Regions from separate parts of the Homo sapiens genome. Here region 2 is linked to region 1. The links are contacts of gene promoters, found by promoter capture Hi-C in human tissues and cell types (Jung and others, 2019). All regions are on one chromosome and are shown on one strand. Each heading gives the region's core, a stretch centred on a gene start or on the middle of the fragment in contact. The rest is flanking DNA. Distances are from core to core; before and after follow the strand shown.

The links. The method cuts DNA at HindIII sites, captures the fragments that hold promoters and counts their contacts. A contact is called where the count stands out against the background at its distance.
Region 2: a contact is called between a fragment that was not itself captured here and the fragment with the promoter of ARHGDIB in region 1, in 1 of the 25 tissues and cell types used here (H1 embryonic stem cells).

Annotation. Positions count from the first base shown.
Region 1 is chr12:14,958,426-14,963,926 of GRCh38, reverse strand. ARHGDIB (Rho GDP dissociation inhibitor beta) reads left to right here and starts at 2,326. Exons shown (of 6, transcript NM_001175.7): 1 at 2,326-2,390. RefSeq lists enhancers at 2,504-2,623, 3,874-3,983. The HindIII fragment of the contact is 9,154 bases long and covers 1-5,284 here.
Region 2 is chr12:15,523,485-15,528,865 of GRCh38, reverse strand. It overlaps PTPRO (protein tyrosine phosphatase receptor type O), which reads right to left. Exons shown (of 27, transcript NM_030667.3): 11 at 3,901-4,052; 12 at 2,604-2,724. Among named protein-coding and RNA genes, the nearest start is that of PTPRO, 200 kb to the right of the region's middle. RefSeq lists enhancers at 2,511-2,580, 2,109-3,308. The HindIII fragment of the contact is 4,719 bases long and covers 1-4,370 here.

The sequences.
Region 1 (5,501 bases), core at 1,077-3,576:
TGAAATGCAAAACAATCATGTCCATCCTTTACTTTCAACAGTTCCCCATCACTGATAGGATCTAGGCCGAGTTCGTTATTAACATGGCATAAGAGGTCCGTGGTGATCTGAACACTGTGCCTGCCCTGCTCTAGGTATATTTCTCATTCACATGTAACTTCCACTTTACATTCCAACAATCTTGAGCTGCTTGCTTATAATACCCTGCATATCCCACATCATTTTGGGAGGCCAGGGCCGTGTTGCTGCTCATGTTTCTCCTCTACCTCGAGTGCCTTCTCTTTCACTCCCAACCCTTCGCTCATCAACTACTCAAAACCTACTCTCCCTCTTAACTGAGCGCAGTGGTCACTTCCTCCAAAAAGCCTTCCTTGATGTCCTTACATGTACTCTCAAAACACACCATGTATTTTTTCTTTTCCTATGCTGACAAAAAAAAAATTAAATTTGTCTGCTTCTGTCTTCCCCATTACATCTTTTAGCTACTTGAGGTCTAGGACTGTGTCTTGTTTATTTCTGTACCTTTCCGTGGCTCCTTGCATATGACCAGGAATTAAGTATATTTTGATAATTGGAGTCCTTTTAGAACTTTCTAAAATTATGAATGCTCTCTCATCCCCCAATAAATACATTAATCTATAATACAAATCTGTAAAATATGTATTGATTTTACAGATTTTTCTGGGAAGGGGTGCTCCCATACCCTCCGATATACACTGGGCTCTGGAGGGAAAAAAAAAGCCAGGTTTGCCTAGTGAGGTGTTCCCTAATAACATGAGAAATGAGTGGTGGAATAGAGACCATGCATTTACCATTTTTCATTTTTAAATATTTCTTGTTACAATTAATGTATTCTGCCTGTGTTATTTTAATTGTCTCCTAGGTACAACATAAGTTCCACAGGGCAGCAGAGATGTCGCCTGCGGTCTATTGCTGCACAAGGGAACTAGAACAGTACTTGAAAGAAAAGAGGTGCTCGATAAATGTTATGGAATGAATAAATGTATCCCCTCTTGAGGGTGCAGAGCTATAGAATGTGTAAGTTACTGCCTTCTGTGTAAATTAGGGTTTGCTTTGTTTTTACAATAAAGTTATGTACATTGTTTCAAGGGCTGTATTCTGTCTATGCTATTTTAAAATTTATAGAATAAAGTGGTATTAGGCTTTTAGTATTTTTGCTCATTTTAATTATATACTATTTTCCTTTTCATATTTTTCTAGGCTAATCTCTTCTCACGTGAAATGACTCCCTTGATTATTCCGATTTCATTGACTCTAAGTAGAAGGCAAACCCTGTGGTATCAATTTACAAAGGGAAATGAAGAAGATGCAGTACATTTAGGTGAAAACAAAATAAACGTCAGTTTCTCCAAATTTGTGTGCTTAGTCAGATCTAAATATATTGATGTAGTGTAAATACTGAATATTGAAATATTAACCTAAATAAGCATTTATTATTGGTAACAGCTACGGGAATATACAGCATGAATGTGACTTGGCTGCTTAAAAACTGTTCCTCAGATGGTTTAAACATGGCCTCCGAGACTTGTTCCCATTTAAATTACTTCATAAACCATTTCCTCAAATATGGTACAAAGTCTATTTTGGCACTTGTTAAGTTGTCACAAATTCTGAGTTGGAAGACTATGAATTAATGAAGTTTTACTTCCTTTTGTAATTTCTTTCCTAGGTTTCATCAAAGACAGTACTTTCGCTTGCTTGTTTGTTTCATTTGAAGAAAAATCAGCCAAAACTATTAAAAACAATATTTGACTGTTTGTAGTGCAATACAAAGCTACGTCTTGAAATTATAACCAACAAAACTCCAAAAATCTGTTTAAGGACACATTTTTAAATTTAGGACCGTAGTATATGCAGTTAACAATCATCATTTCTTAGCACTCTACATTCACTGCCAGCAAACTTTCAACGTATCTGGTTGATAATGAAGCTGGCGGGGACCCAGTGGGAACAGAAGTGAGTGGTACAAAGTAAAGCCGATGTGAATTTATTGCTACTGGTTTCAGGCTCCTTACCTCCATAGGCTTATGCACTGCAATGACCTGATTATCAGAAATACCCTCACAATTATTCATAATACCCATAGCTATAGGCTCCACACTCTTGCGTGTACATTCATGCATCTCCACGTCACACGGGCTGTCATGCTCGCACATGTGCCATTAATTGACAAGAATGCTGCTCAAGTTGGCTGATCAAGAGATAGGCAGTGCAAAGGAACAGGATTTGAGACAGCCCAGGGTTTCCTCTTCAAGTAGGTCTAAAACATTTTTTTTTCTCATTGACTTCCTTCCTGTTCTAACTGCCAGTACTCAGAAGTCAGAGTTGAGAGACAGAGGCACCCCGGACAGAGACGTGAAGCACTGAATGTAAGTTCAAATACCTCGGGCTGGGGAGGCTTCAGGTGGGCACAGAGCAAAGTCGGAAACCTCTAGACGGGGCTACCGCCCTCGACAGTTTATTATTTTTTTAGAGGGGCAGTTCTTCTTTAAAACAAACTTTATGATAAGAAATTGCTAAGGAGGCTGCAGAGAAGGGGAAGTTAGAGGAGGGAAGGGTAGCAGTGACTCAGGGGAGGAGGCTTAAAAAAGGAGGGTACAGGGTGCGCTGCAGCCCAGGAAGTGCAATCCTGAATATTCTCAGAAGGGCTCTGAGAACACGCACCGGGAGTGCCTGGAGGGGTTTCCTGCAAAGTAGGAGCAGGCACCTGGCCAGGCTTGGAAGAAAAAGACTGTAGATCCAAAATGATACGGTCTGTGCTGGTGGATGGTGGGTTGTGCTGGGGTGGAGATATGTGGTTTCCTGTTTTTAAGCAGACAATGTAAAAAGACTGGTTGAAAGAGAAAAAAAAATGGTTCAAAGCTGTCAAATATTAAACTGTCTTCCACTAAATAATTTTCTGGTGATATAAGAGAAATGCATAATGAAATCCTCCCTTAGAGTGCAGGGGCTTTATCCCTCAAAGAGGAAGTATGGTATAGCACATTGTTATGTACTCATGAGTCATACAGTGATAGAATTTCTACCACTGACAAAGGCTGTGTATTAAATTCCTGCAGTCGGATGGGCAGATCTTTGCTGTTGTTGTCAAAAATAATAATAGGGCTGGGCGTGGTGGCTCACGCCTGCAATCCCAGCACTTTGGGAGGCCGAGGCGGGTAGATCACCTGAGGTCAGGAGTTCAAGACCGGCTTGACCAACATGGTGAAACCCCATCTCTACTGAAAATACAAAATTAGCTGGGTGTGGTGGTGCATCCCTGTAATCCCAGTTATTTGGGAGGCTGAGGCAGGAGAATCACTTGAACCCAGGAGGCAGGGGTTGCAGTGAGCCAAGATCACGCCATTGCACTCCAGCATGGGCAACAAGAGCGAAACTCTGGCTCAAAAAATAAAAATATTAATAATGATAATAGCCCTTTAGGTATGAGATAACTAACAGCAAACATGGAAAACACCAAATAACGTATTAAGAGACAGGTTTGAGAAAAATTCAAGGGGGCCCAGCTAGGACAGCTGATCAGTGGGCCTTCAAAATGTCAAGGTCTGAATTTCAGCCACCATTAGGAGAAGTGCTTTAGGTATGACCTGAAATACTTTCTTCCCTTTTAGAGGACTTCCCAGCCAGCATGTTTCATAAACATAATCTGTAATTAAACTCTAGACCTATGGTAACTTGAGGTGTGTGTCTGGCAAGCCCTGGGCAGTTCTTCATTCAGAGTGGGGAAAGGCAGACTGCTCTCACCCGGAGGGCTCATGGTCACCACTTCACATGGAGACCTAGAGCCCCTGGAGTCAGGGTTGGCCTGGCCATCTTCACTGCAGGGATGGTCAGGCACAGGAGATCAAGAGGACCATGGCACCTGTTGGTCCGGAGAGACAGGGGGCAGAGGTCCAGTCCCTAGCAGGCATCGTGAATCTTGCCATTGGCTTTGTGTTTTTTTAATTTGTAAGAATATATTCCCTCCCAAAGCAGATATAGCACAAGCTTAGTAACAAGAGCATCTTACTCTTTTGTGAGATGTGTGAAATTCTAAGAGACAGTTCTTTCTCCATCCATGCTTCACAGATGCAAAACCTGAGGACTAACTATGCTGTCACTGAACAGAAACTGGCAAGCATTTTTCAGGCCTCGACTGGAATTTGGTCCTTCCTTGCTTTGGAGAGCATGAGTTTGTCCCCTAGGGAAGTTAGCTCTGAGCAACATTAAGGTTCTGTTTTCAGTAGACACTCAGCACCACAAAGTCATTCTGAGGGAAAGATACGGGTCTGAGCTGATTTGGGAGAGCACAGTACATGACAAACATCAGCTAGCAGGAAAAGAGAAGCCCTGGGGAGTCGAAATTATGCAGATAGAAAAGGAGAACCAACATTCATTGAGTGCCTTCTATGTGTCAGGCCTGGTGATAAAAACTTTCAAATTTTGTTCCTGAGAAGAATGCAGAAGTGTTCAATAATTTGACTAAAATTACATACTGATACAAAAAGGATCAATAGCCACAATGCCTCTGAATTGCAATTCACAGGGCATGGTGGTGCGTGCCTGTGGTCCTACCTACTCAGGAGGCTCACGTGATCCTCCCGCCTCAACCTCCCGAGTAGCTGGGACTATAGGCGCGCATCACCACGCTGGCTAATTTTACCATTTTTAGTAGAGACGGGGTTTCTCCATGTTGCCAGGGCTGGTCTTGAATTCCTGGGCTCAAGCAATCCGCCTGCCTTGGCCTCCCAAAGTCCTGGGATTAAAGGCGTGAGCCACCATGCATGGCCTATTATTATTTTTTTGAGACAAGTCTCACTCTGTCACCCGAGCTGAAGTGCAGGGGCGTGAACGCAGCTCACTGCAGCCTCGACCTCCTGAGGCTCAGGTGATCTCCCACATTCTTTAGGAAGAATCACATGGAAGAAATTTTCTCCAATTCCATATTTTGAGAGTTCTTATTCCTGGTTTGTGTTATTGCTGCCCGGGATCCTGTATTCAAGGCTACACTGGCATACCCAGAGATGAGTCTCATGTTGCCCCTGAAACGTCAGCAACATTTATCTGTGCAATAAGCACATCCTGAATCATCCTGTGTTGTGTTACTCTCTGGTGTCCACAGCCAAAGAGTGAATTTTACCGCTGGTAAAAATTCACTTGGGCTTTCTTAAAGAGCCTAATAATCTTAGCACAAACGGTCATAAAAAAAATTCTCTCTCAATTCTGTCTAACTTTTCATGCTAATTTAAAACTTTTGTGAATATATTGAGATACTGAAGGCAATGGCTTCCTTAATGCACAGTTTTCTTTGAGAATTATTTAAAATAATATTTGTGAAGGTACTTGGTGGCATGACTTCACACGTTGGGCACTCAGCAAAGCTCACGGGATCTCTTTGAGTTCTCTCTCTTTGTGCATATGAATGTGGGTTAGAAAAACACACTAAAAAATGCACAGGCAAGAAATAATAAATTGTTTCTCTCACAAAGACAAATGGTAAG
Region 2 (5,381 bases), core at 762-3,261, 570 kb before region 1:
CTGTAAAAATGTTCTTCCTCATGGCCTGTACAGTTTGTTGCCAGGTGAATTGCAGCTTGTTTACCTGTTATTTGCTCCTTTTCTCTTGATGCTTTCAGGATCTTCTCTTTGTCCTTGACCTTTGAGAGTCTGAGTATTATACGCTTTGGGGTGATTTTATTTGAGTGGTATCTGTTTGGTATTCTCAGACCCTCATGAACCTGGCTATTTGTACCTGTCTCAAGTTTTGGAATGTTTTCTATTATTATTTCTTTCAGTAAACTTCCTTATTCAGCTCCCCCTTGAATACTAATAATTCTTATGTTTGATCTTTTAAGGTTTTTTTAATACCTTTTTTTTTTTTGACAGATTCTTGCTCTGTCACCCAGGCTGGTGTGCAGTGGTGCGATCTCGGCTCACTGCAAGCTCCACCTCCTGAGTTCACATCATTCTCCTGCCTCAGCCTCCCGAGTAGCTGGGACTACAGGCACCCGCCACCATGCTGGCTAATTTTTTTTTTTTTTTTGTATTTTTATTAGAGACAGGGTTTCACCATGTTAGCCAGGATGGTCTTGATCTCCTGACCTCGTGATCTGCCCGCCTTGGCCTCCCAAAGTGCTGGGATTACAGGTGTGAGCCACCGTGCCCAGCCTTTTTTTTTTAATATCTTATAGTCAGACTTCACTTACTTTCAGTCTTATTTTTCTTTTTTCTCCTCCAATGGTGTATTTTCAGATAGGCTTTTAGCTCCCTGAATCATTCCACTCCTTTGTCCATTCTGCTGTGATGTGTTTTTCAGTTCAGCAAACGTATTTTCCAGTACCAAGAATTTGTTTGATTTAAAAATTTCTCTGATAAATTTCTGAATTGCTTTTCTGTGTTTTCCTGGACATCACTGATTTTCCTTAAACTGTATTTTGAATTCTTGTTCAGAGAGCTCACAGATCACCATCTTGTTAGGGTCAGTCATTGGATTTTTGCTTTGTCCTTTTCCTGGGTAGCGTGGGCGGGTCACAGTTCCCTGTTTGATGTTGTTTCTTATGGGCATAGAACTATGTCTTTGCATTAAATAATTAACTATTTAGTCCACTTTCCTTTGTCTGCCTTGCCTTGTTTTGTCTTTTATTGGCTATGTTTGCCTAGCAAATATTTACCACTAGATCACTGCCTACATTTCAGCTCTAGGTGGCACCTTAAGTCCAGATTTGCCTTGGCTCTGCCTGTCCTGAAAAAGAAAGGTCTTAAAGGAATTATCCTGGCAGTGTGTCAAAGTTAGCTGGGGGGCTCATGCCCAAGGGACCTGTGAAATGTACCTCCTACAGTATGGTGCTGCTGAACAGCCACTCTGATTTGGTGTCTCCTTTGGCCAAGTTACAGAGCAGAGTTGCTGGGACTGGGAATGGTAGTTCCATCTCATCTCTTTGTTTCTGCCTATCCTCAAGCTATTTCTCCCTTCAGGCAGTCACGATGCTTCCTGTGGGTTAAGGCAAGGACAGATTTCCTGCCAGGGAGCCCAAGATAGTGGGGAAACTAGTTGACTACCTCAACCTCACTTTTTCCAGTGTAGAAACATGAGTTGGCAGAAGATTTTCTGCACACTTGTTGCCAGGCAGAATCGCGGGGGAGGCGTCACGAATGTGGAAGCCTGATTCTCCTACCATCTGCCCAGAGTATTTTCACTTCTCTATGGCTCTGGAATCGGTCGCATCCTCGTATTTGAGTTCTGGGTTGTTGCTGGTGAAAATCTCAGAGTGTATATTTGCTTTTGGTTTTCTGTTGGGTAGAGGGGAGTGAAGCCAGCTTGCTTCTATGCTGCCATTTATAAACTTTTGGTGTGTTGTCCCTACTTTAATTAAAATTATTTCCATCTTTCTCTCATTATATGAAAATATATCTCATCTTTTAGTACTTATTTTAACTCTAGTTTTTATTCTAGTATCTACCTGTATCTATGCTTGTTTAGTTATTTGTTATCAATTTATATTAACTTGTTCATTTCTTTGCTTATTTTTATACTTCTTATATGAAGGACTAATGATCTTTTTATTTCTTATAAACCCCAACTTATTCATTTTAATTATATCTAGGCATCAGGTAATTTCATTATGTCTTTTAGAGTAGTTGTGTCTGACCATATATTTAGGAAATCCATATTATTTTATTATAAATTAGTTTCTTTTTGTCTTGATTTTATTCTGGAGTTGGGAAACTATATAAAATTTAAAAAATCAATATGTAGATTTTTAAATCCATTACTATTTAAGATATTAAAGAGAGCATTACATAATATTAATATGAAAATAGAATGTTGTCTTATAGGGTTGTGAACACTGCATTAGATAATCTCTAATGTGCTTCCATCTCCAAAATCCTATGACTACCTGGTTTCTTTAACCTTACAAAGAACAGCGAACACCACTGTTTCCCAGAACAGTATACAACCCACTCACAGAAACTTGTACCAAGTTGAACATACCCTTTTGCTAGTACAAATGTCTATTTTCTACTCATAAAAAATTAGCCATTTTTCTGTTATTATTTCATTGAATTGAGGAGCTCTTGCTGAATCGAATGATGCAAACATTAGTGATTATTTCACACCCATCTCTGTGCACTCTTCTTACCTAGCTTGACAAGGCGGAGCATGGAGGTATTACTTCCTCTTTCAGTACAAGCAGTTACTGAGAGGTTATAGATGTCGCCTGGAGGCAAGCTGAGAATTGCAGTCATGACATTGCGTGTTACCTGCAAGATCATCAAAATCAAGGGTTTAAACTTTTAGTGAATGAATCAGTGCACCACCCCAAACAACTAAAGGACTATAGCAGACACATTCCCTCTCTGTTCTATGCAGCAGTCTGCAATTGATTATATTATAGATACGTTATATCTTCTGAAAATTTTATAAATTCCTCAGCTGGGCCCAATGTGAGGTAGCCTTAATAATGCATTATATACATCAGAAAAATTTTGCAATGAATTCCCTTATTTGGAATGGGTCTCATTCTGACATTTTCTCACATATTGATAACAGGTTTTAGAAAAGACAATTACTGAGTTGCTACTGATATGTACATTCTAAGACGTTCAAAAGAAACCTACCCATATCTGTAGACGTGTGGCTTCCTACCTAACAGCCATTGTTATTTCCCATCCTCTCCTACAGCTAGAGGGGATGATGTGACCCAGCTCTGATCAGTGGATTGTAAGTAGAAGTCACATGGACAAATGACAGTTCAGTTCACATCCTGTAAGTGCTGGGCTTCCACATCATCCCTTTTCTTTTCCCCTTCCTGCAGGCTGGAACATGCATGTAATGGTGATAAAGCTTCCTCTCTAGAGACAAGGACTATGCATAGTGGCAGATGGAACAACAAAACAGAATTTGCCTCCCTGGGTGACCCCTTAAAGCAGAAGTGCCTGGTTAGTCCTGTGCTATCATGGGAGAGGTATAAACTTCTATTTTGTTTGAGCCACTCTCTTTTTGTTTGTTTCTTTATTACAGTAGTTTAGTCTGTCCCCTTATCAATAAACATCCAAAAGCGTATTTTGGAGAAAAGAAATCAGTAGTCCCAAGGTCCCCAAATCTTTAGGTGTCGGTGATATATGGGAAAAAATGGGAAACACGTTAATTGTAGTTTTCTTGAAAATGTTTGGCATCCTGAAGAAAAAGCTCAAATCATAATTCTAAATATAAATGAAATCAATAGTTGGAGCTCTTACATCTCACTGTTAAAGATTAAACGGTAAGCTCTATGAAAGGAAGAATTCAATTTTTGTTCACTGTCTTATCTCCAGAGCCTAAAACAGACAACTGGTATGCAAACATTTGACGTGTCAATAAATGATTGCTTAGTGGTTTTCAATAGTTCATAAAACTAAATTTACAGACACACAATGCTGGCATTCAAAGAAACATACACTCTTTTTAATTTTCTTTTTTCCTTCTGCAACCACCATCCAGTGAAGCATTCTAGAATGGGACAAGTCCGTTGTATCATCCCCATATGTCCAACTGATATATAACAGACTGTTGAAATATTCCACAGAAGTGATTTCCGGAGCCACTGGGGCTACAAGGGAGAAACGAGGCACAATTTAGTATAATAGATGGATAAATAAAGTACTTACCAGCAGAGCATGAAATCCCATATAGAGTCAACTTAGCGAATTAGAATTCACAGCACACGATAGTCCCGGTAACTTCAGGACCTCTCAATAACAGTGAAGGATGGTGATACAGGATGGGCACTTGTTTAATGGGATCCCACATCTTGTATATCTAAGATACAAGACCCCCAGACCCATCTGTACCTGAGGATATCAAAGTCTTTTGGATAAATGTCACCATTACAAAATTCCTAAAAAGTTCACTTGTTTGGGTATATTTTTGTTACATCAACCAATTAATATTAATAGGTATCAGTGGAGTTATTAGCCAAGTAGGATTAAAAAACTTAGAGTCCTGCAAACTAAGTCTCTTTCATTTACTTGCAGCAAAGGTGTTTATGGGAATAAAGAACAGTAGGATACAAGGGTAGGAAGATAGAAGATCATAGTACTACAAGCAGGATAGAAGACAAATGTTATTTGCATAAAATAACAAGACATTATTTTTGACAGTGTCTAGCCCAGTGCTTTGCAGAAAACAGGCTCTTAATAAATGTTGCTGAGTGAGTAGTGAGAGAGAGAAAGAAGGGAAGAACAAGTTTTTTTTTTTTTTTTTTTTAGCCACGAAGCTAAATTCTAACACTGAGCTTGCTACTTTATCATCTTATGCATTTAAATTTTTAAAAATTTAAGCAGGGAATGCCTGTAATCCCTGCATTTCGGGAAGCTGAGGTGGGTGGATCGCTTGAGTCCAGTTCAAGACCAGCCTGTGCAACATAGCAAAACCCCATCTCTACAAAAAAATTAGAAGATTCAGCTGGGCATGGTGGCACACCCTGTTGTCCCACCTACTAGGGAGGCTGAGGTGGGAGGACTATTTGAGCCCAGGAGATCCAGGCTGCAGTGAGGCATGAGCCTGCCACTGCATTCCAGCCTGGGTGACAGAGTGAGACCCTGCCTCAAAAAAAAAAATTACTTTTATTTTATTTTATTTTTACTTTTGAGGCAGGATCTCAATCTGTCACGCAAGCTGGAGTGCAGTGGCGCAATCTCAGCTTACTGCAGCCTCGACCTCCCAGGCTCAATCATCCCTCCTGCCTCAGTCTACCAAGTAGCTAGGACTACAGGTACAGGCCTTCATATCCAGCTAATTTTTATATTTTTTGTAGAGACAGGGTCTTTCTATATTGCCTAGACTTGTCTTGAACTCCTGGGCTCAAGCAATCCACCCATCGTGGCTTCCCAAAGTGCTGGGATTTCAGGCGTGAGCTTCCACGCCCAGCCAAAAAACG